Regions from separate parts of the Homo sapiens genome. Here region 1 is linked to region 2. Evidence: promoter capture Hi-C in human tissues and cell types (Jung and others, 2019). All regions are on one chromosome and are shown on one strand. Each heading gives the region's core, a stretch centred on a gene start or on the middle of the fragment in contact. The rest is flanking DNA. Distances are from core to core; before and after follow the strand shown.

Region 1 (3,369 bases), core at 493-2,992, 280 kb before region 2:
CATCCCTGTGATTCAATTACCTCCCACCGGGTCCCTCCCAGGACATGTGGGGATTATGAGAGCTACAATTCATGAAATTTGGGTGGGGACACAGCCAAACCATATCCTTCTGCCCTGGCCCCTCCCAAATATCATGTTCTCACACTTCAAAACACAATCATGCCTTCCCAACAGTCACCCAAAGTCTTAATTCATTCCAGCGTTAACCCAAAAGTCCAAGTCCAAAGTCCACCTGAGAAAAGACAAGTCACTTCTGCTCACGAGCCTGTAAAATCAAAAGCAAATCAGTTACTTTCTAGATACAATGGGGGGCATTGGGTAAAAACACCTATTCCAAATGGAAGAAATTGGCCAAAACAAAGGGGCTACAGGCTTCATGCAAGTCCAAAATCCAGTGGGGCAGTCAAATCTTAAAGCTCCGAAATGATCTCCTTTGATTCCATGTCTCACATTCAGGTCACACTGATGCAAGAGGTGGGCTCCCATGGCCTTGGGTAGCTCTGCCCCTGTAGCTTTGCAGGGTACAGCCTCCCTCCATGCTGCTTTCATGAGCTGGTGTTGAGTGCCTATGGCTTTTCCTGACACATGGTGCAAGCTGCAAGCTGTTAGTGGATCTATCATTCTGGGGTCTGCAGGATGATGGCCATCTTCTCACAGCTCCACCAGGCAGTGCCACAGTGGAGACTCTGTGCGGGGACTCCAATTGCACATTTCCCTTCTGCACTGCTCTAGCAGAGGTTCTCAATGAAGGCTCTGCCCCTGCAGCAGACTTCTGCCTGGAAATCCAGGTGTTTCTATACATCCTCTGAAATCTAGGTGGTGGTTTCCAAACCTCAATTCTTGACTTCTGCGTACCCACAGGCTTAACAATATGTGGAAGCTGCCAAGGCCTTGGGCTTGCATCCTCTGAAGCAATGGCCTGAGCTGTACATTGGCCCCTTTTAGCTATACATAGGACACAGGGCACCAAGTCCTAAGGCTGCACAGAGCAGCAGAGGGGCCCTGGGACCAGTCCAAAAATCATTTTTCCCCCTAGGCCTCTGGGCCTGTGATGGGAGGGGCTGCTGTGAAGACCTCTGACATGCCCTGGAGACATTTTCCCCATTGTCTTGGTGATTAACATTTGGCTCCTCATTTGTTATGCTAATTTCTGCACTAGGCTTGAATTTATCCTCAGAAAATGAGTTTTTCTTTTCTGCTGTATCGTTGGGCTGCAAATTTTCCAAACTGTTATATTCTGCTTCCTCTTGAATGCTTTGCTGCTTAGAAATTTCTTCCACCAGTTCCCCTAAATCATCTCACTTAAGTTCAAAGTTCCACAAATCTCTAGGGCAGGGGCAAAATGCCACCAATCTCTCTGCTAAAGCATAACAAGAGTCACCTCTGCTGCAGTTCCCAACAAGTTCCTTATCTCCCTCTGAGACACCTCAGCCTGGACTTCATTGTCCATATCATGATCAATATTTTGGTCAAACCATTCAACAAGTCTCTAGAAATTTCCAAACTTTTCCACATTTTCCTGTCTTCTTCTGAGTATCCAAACTGTTCCAACGTCTGCCTGTTACCCAGTTCCAGAGTCACTTCCACATTTTTGGATATCCTTATAGCAGCACCCCCACTCTCTGTGATACCAACTTACTGTATTAGTCTGTTCTCATGCTGCTAATAAAGACATACCCGAGACTGGGTAATTTATAAAGGAAAAAGCTTTAAGTGACTCACAATTACACAGGGCTGGGGAGGCCTCAGGAAACTTGCAATCATGGTAGAAGGGGAAGCAAACATGTCCTTCTTCACATGATGGCAGGAAGGAGAAGTGCTTAGCAAAAGGGGGAAAACCCCTTATAAAACCATCAGATCTCACGAGAACTCACCACTATCATGAGAACAGCAGCATGGGAGTAACTGCCCCCATGATTCAATTACCTCCCTTTGGGTCCCTCCCATGACTTGTGAGGATTATGGGAATTACAATTCAAGATGAGATTTGGGTGGGGACACAGCCAAACCATATCAAGACCCAATCCTTCTCCTGAGCTGCCTCCTGACTTGCACCCTGTAGCTGTTCTTTATCCATACCAGCCTCTTGGAGCCCATGGAATGTGCTTTACTTTCTCTTGCCTTCTGGGTAGTGCACAAGACACCCTCCCTGCCTGGGAAGGCCTTCCACCTCCCACCTCCATACCTTGTCAACTCCTTCACCTGCCTTGAATTTTCTGCTGAGACTGCCTCTCTCCAGGAAGGCTTTCCTGACCCTTCCCAAATTGGACCAAGTTTTCCCTTTATAACCCTATGATACTCTATAATTGCCTTTATAACCCTTCTCAGAGTATTATTACAGATTAAGTTACAGTGTTATTTGGTTAGTGCCTGATTCCCACACTAGGCTAAAAATTATATGAGGCAAAAATTCTTTTGCTTTCATTGTGACTCTGATATCTGATGTAATACCTGTGTAGGTTCTGCTAAAATAATTATTCGTTAAACAAATGAGGAAACGAGTAAAACTGAGGGAGACAGTAATTGGAAAATAAGCTATGTGAGGAATTAATTGCATGCAACTTTACAAAATTTATTTAGACTATCTGCTATTGTCAGTATCCACTTCTAGGTTAACACTAAATTCTCCATAAAAGGTTGGCATTGGGGAGACTTCAAATGTCCTCCCAGCCAATTTCCTCTGGGGCTTTAACCCAGACAGTATGTGTAGCAACCAACTGTCCTGAATTTTCTGAATCAGTTGTGATTTCAAATTCCCTGTTCCATTGTTTTCAAAGAGTATGGTCTTTGTCAGATAATATGTCACAATTTTTGGGTCAGAAAATATAGTTGCTGTGATATATTTCTCTGATATCTTATGTAAGGTATATGGGTTATGATAGGTAGGTAGGTAGATAGATAGATAGATAGATAGATAGATAGAGATATGATATATTTGGCAATGTCCCCACCCAAATCTCATGTTGAATTTCCATGTGTTGTGAGAGGGACCTAGTGGGAGGTAACTGAATTATGGGGGCAGGTCTTTCTCATGCTGTTCTCGTGATAGTGAATAAGTCTCACAAGATCTGATGGTTTTATAAGAGGATTTCCCCTGCACAAGCTCTCTCTCTCTCTTTGGCTTCTGCCATCCATGTAAGACGTGGCTTGCTCCTCCTTGCCTTCCACCATGATTGTGAGGCCTCCCCAGCCATATGGAGCTGTAAGTCCATTAAACGCTTTTTCCTGTGTAAATTACCCAGTCTCGGGTATGTCTTTATCAGCAGCGTGAAAATGAACTGATACAAGATATATGCCCACACGTACTGCATTTTGTTTATTATGTCCCAATAAATGGCAGCCTCTTTTAATTTAGGCATCATGTTTTTC
Region 2 (3,056 bases), core at 47-2,546:
CCGAGCCCTGGGGCATGCGCCCGGCCTCATCTTTCACCTGAGGAGGCTCCTCCATGGCCGGGCGCCCCGCGGGTGAGTCGTACGGGGACGTGGCGCTTCGAAGTTTATGGGGAGCCTCGCACACCTCAAGTTGAAGGAACTGCTGAATCAGGGTGCCCCAATTAAGTCAGATCTTAGGCAATCCTATGGTTCCTTTACTCTCCCTCACCCTTCCTCCTACTCTGAAAAGAAACCGGATCGGCCTGTCCGCCCAGAGGTCACCTGGGAAGAGCAGAGTGATGTCACTCGGCTACCCCCAAAACTGCCTCCAAGGTACAAAAGAGCTGGAATATCTGTGCATGGTCCAAAGGGACGGCACACTCCGGAAGGTGACCCTTTAGAAGGTATTATTACCAGACTGCAGCCTCGGCCTCTGGGATGGGTGCGGGAGGAAGGTGGTGAGTTTCCATCATCCCGCTGCCTTGCCGCACGGCGGCCAGGTGCTGCTACACATTCAAACCCGACAGTTTGGCTTAGTGGGTTGCGAAAAAAGAACTCAAGGGGAGGAAGCACCTGCAGCCACCCAGGCCGAAGTTAGGGACCACTTCCCCAGAGTTACGGACGGCAACAACCAAGTCACGTCTGGAGTCACCTCTCTGGCTTCCGGCTCCGCAGGGCTTGCCCTCCCGAGTCACCCAGGCAGAGGCCGGGGACGCCAGTAAGGGGAAGGTCGGAGGGTCGGGAGGACAGTGAGGGGAGGCGGGCTGGAGGAGCCGGGATGGCGAAAGGTGGGGGGTGGGGTGGGAGGGTTAGAGGGGCCCGGGGCGCCGGGGCCGGGGTGTGTGGGTTGTGGGCGAGGTGGCCGGGGCGGCCAGGGGGCGCGCAGGATACCCTACCTGTGGTGGAGAGCACGGTGCTGGCGAAGAAGAGCGCGGAGGTGAAGTCCCAGTTCCAGTTGCCCGAGGCGTTGCTGAGCACCGACACGCCGTAGTTGCTGGCCTCCAGCACCCGGCCCAGGAACTGCTCCAGCTGCTGCTCAGACAGGCACTCGTGCTCCTCCAAGAAGCGTCGCTTCAGCTTGCGCAGCTCCTGGCGCAGCAGGTCCTCATAGGGCAGCTCCACCGAGGAGAAGACCACTGCGCCGAAGACCAGGTAGAGCAAGTAGCCCAGCACCAGGAAGCCGAAGCACCAGGCCGAGCGGTGCCGCTCCACCAGGCGCACGCACGAGCTGCCGGCCAGGGACTGCAGCATCTTCTCCACCGCCGCCGCCAAGGCCAACGCCGCAGACCGGCCGGAGCGCGGCCCGCCGCCTCTTCTGGCCCCGCCGCCCCCGCCCCCGCCCGGGCCTGGCTCCCGCCCGCCGCCCGCTCCCCCGCGCGCCCGCCCGCCCCGCTCCTCCGGGCAGCGCCGTCTTCCTGCGATTGGCTCTCTCGGGCGATGTTTTTCTTCCTTCTTTTCCTGTTTCCTTGCAATATAAAAAGCCCAGATGATGTGGCGCTGACGTGGTTGCCGGCTCAGGTAACCCGAGAGTCAGCGGAGACCGCGCGCAAACTTGGCCAGAGCGCCTGGGCTGGGCTGCCGGGGCCCGGGACGCACCGCCTTCTGCGCACTCCAGAGGTGGGGCGGGCGCTCGGTGGCGCCCAGACCCCGACCCGACAGCCACCAGCTCCTCCCGCTCCCTCCCTTCCTGGGTCCAGTAGCCAAACTCTAGCTGACCGCGCGCGGCGTGTGCGTGTGTGTGTGTGTGTGTTCGCGCGCGTGTAGTGTGGGCCGCTTCTGGTCAATGCGCTGGCCGTCCAAGCCCCCTGTCCAAGCTACTCTTGTTTCCCACTTATTTTCTCCCAATCAAAGCCAGTATTACAAAACAGCAAGCGCTGAAGTACTTTCCTTCTTTGTCTTATTGGTCGAAGGATTGAGCAATCTGGTGCCAGTAATGACGGTGAAAATACCAGAACATCAGAGTTGGAAGGCTCCTTGAATCAGTCTCCTCTCTCCCACCCATCCCCCTCACAAAAAGGACTTGAGGGAAAAGGAGAGTCTCAGAGAAGTCCTATTTCTGAGTTCGAATTTTCTAAAACATGACCTTAGGTTTTTTGGTGAAAAAACATCCCAAATGTGTCAACTGCCAGAAGAAACTGAGCTTTCCCAACTGTCACTTCTTTTTAAAGTGACAAAAATGTGGGCGAGGGTCAGCGAGCCGCCTGCTTGTGGATGAAAATAAAAATTGGTACACCCTTTCTGGAAAGGCAATTTAGCGACACGTCTCAAGAACCTTGAAAGGGTTTATTTGTTCTGATTCAGTGATATGTCCTAAGAAAAAACAATCAGAGAGGCACTTACTTACAAAGACTGGTCATAGACGGTATCTATATATACATACATGTAGTTGTATAATATAGTGCATACACATGTGGGACACACACACACACACACACACACACACGGTATAGATGAAATAATGAAGACTCAGAACAATCTAAATATTCCAAAATAGAGAATGGTTAAATAAGTTATGGCATCTCTACAGCATGGACACCATATAGACATTAAACACATTAAAGTTGTGTCTAAAGACTATTGAAGCAAAACTGTGTAGAATCTCAAATATGTAAAATATTTGTATTTTGTTACAAAATAAAATGACATCTGCATTATTAATCAACTGCATAGGAATAAAACTATCTCCTTGCAGTTGTCTTTGGGTAATAGTAGAGTATATAGATGACTTTCCTTTCTTGTACCTTTTAATATTTTTCAAATTTTCTACAGTGGATATATATTATTTTTGTAATCAGGAAAAACATTTAAAATACACAAAACTGAATTGTACAATTAATCATTCCAACACCTAGCTGAACATTTGCCTACTTTACTGAAGTTCTCTAAACAAGTCATATTTTGTATTTTCATAGAAACTTGTGCAAATGTCTAACATATATATCAGTGATTTTTCACTTTTAGTCAATAGCCTTACCTCCTACGTTACTCAAAAGATTGAAGCCAGCCCTCCACTTTACTTCTCTGTACTTCAAAATTTACTCATCGGTAATCCATTTCTTCCCTTTGCTCTTACCCCT

What was found. The method cuts DNA at HindIII sites, captures the fragments that hold promoters and counts their contacts. A contact is called where the count stands out against the background at its distance.
Region 1: a fragment that was not itself captured here is called in contact with the fragment with the promoter of KCNK1 in region 2 in 1 of the 25 tissues and cell types used here (H1 embryonic stem cells).

Annotation. Positions count from the first base shown.
Region 1 is chr1:233,888,994-233,892,362 of GRCh38, reverse strand. No RefSeq gene overlaps it. Among named protein-coding and RNA genes, the nearest start is that of SLC35F3, 14 kb to the left of the region's middle. The HindIII fragment of the contact is 7,569 bases long and covers 1-3,369 here.
Region 2 is chr1:233,612,346-233,615,401 of GRCh38, reverse strand. It overlaps KCNK1 (potassium two pore domain channel subfamily K member 1), which reads right to left and starts at 1,296. Exons shown (of 3, transcript NM_002245.4): 1 at 876-1,296. The coding sequence starts at 1,230. RefSeq lists enhancers at 270-329, 1,518-2,170 and silencers at 800-859, 1,200-1,269, 1,630-1,729. The HindIII fragment of the contact is 20,351 bases long and covers 1-3,056 here.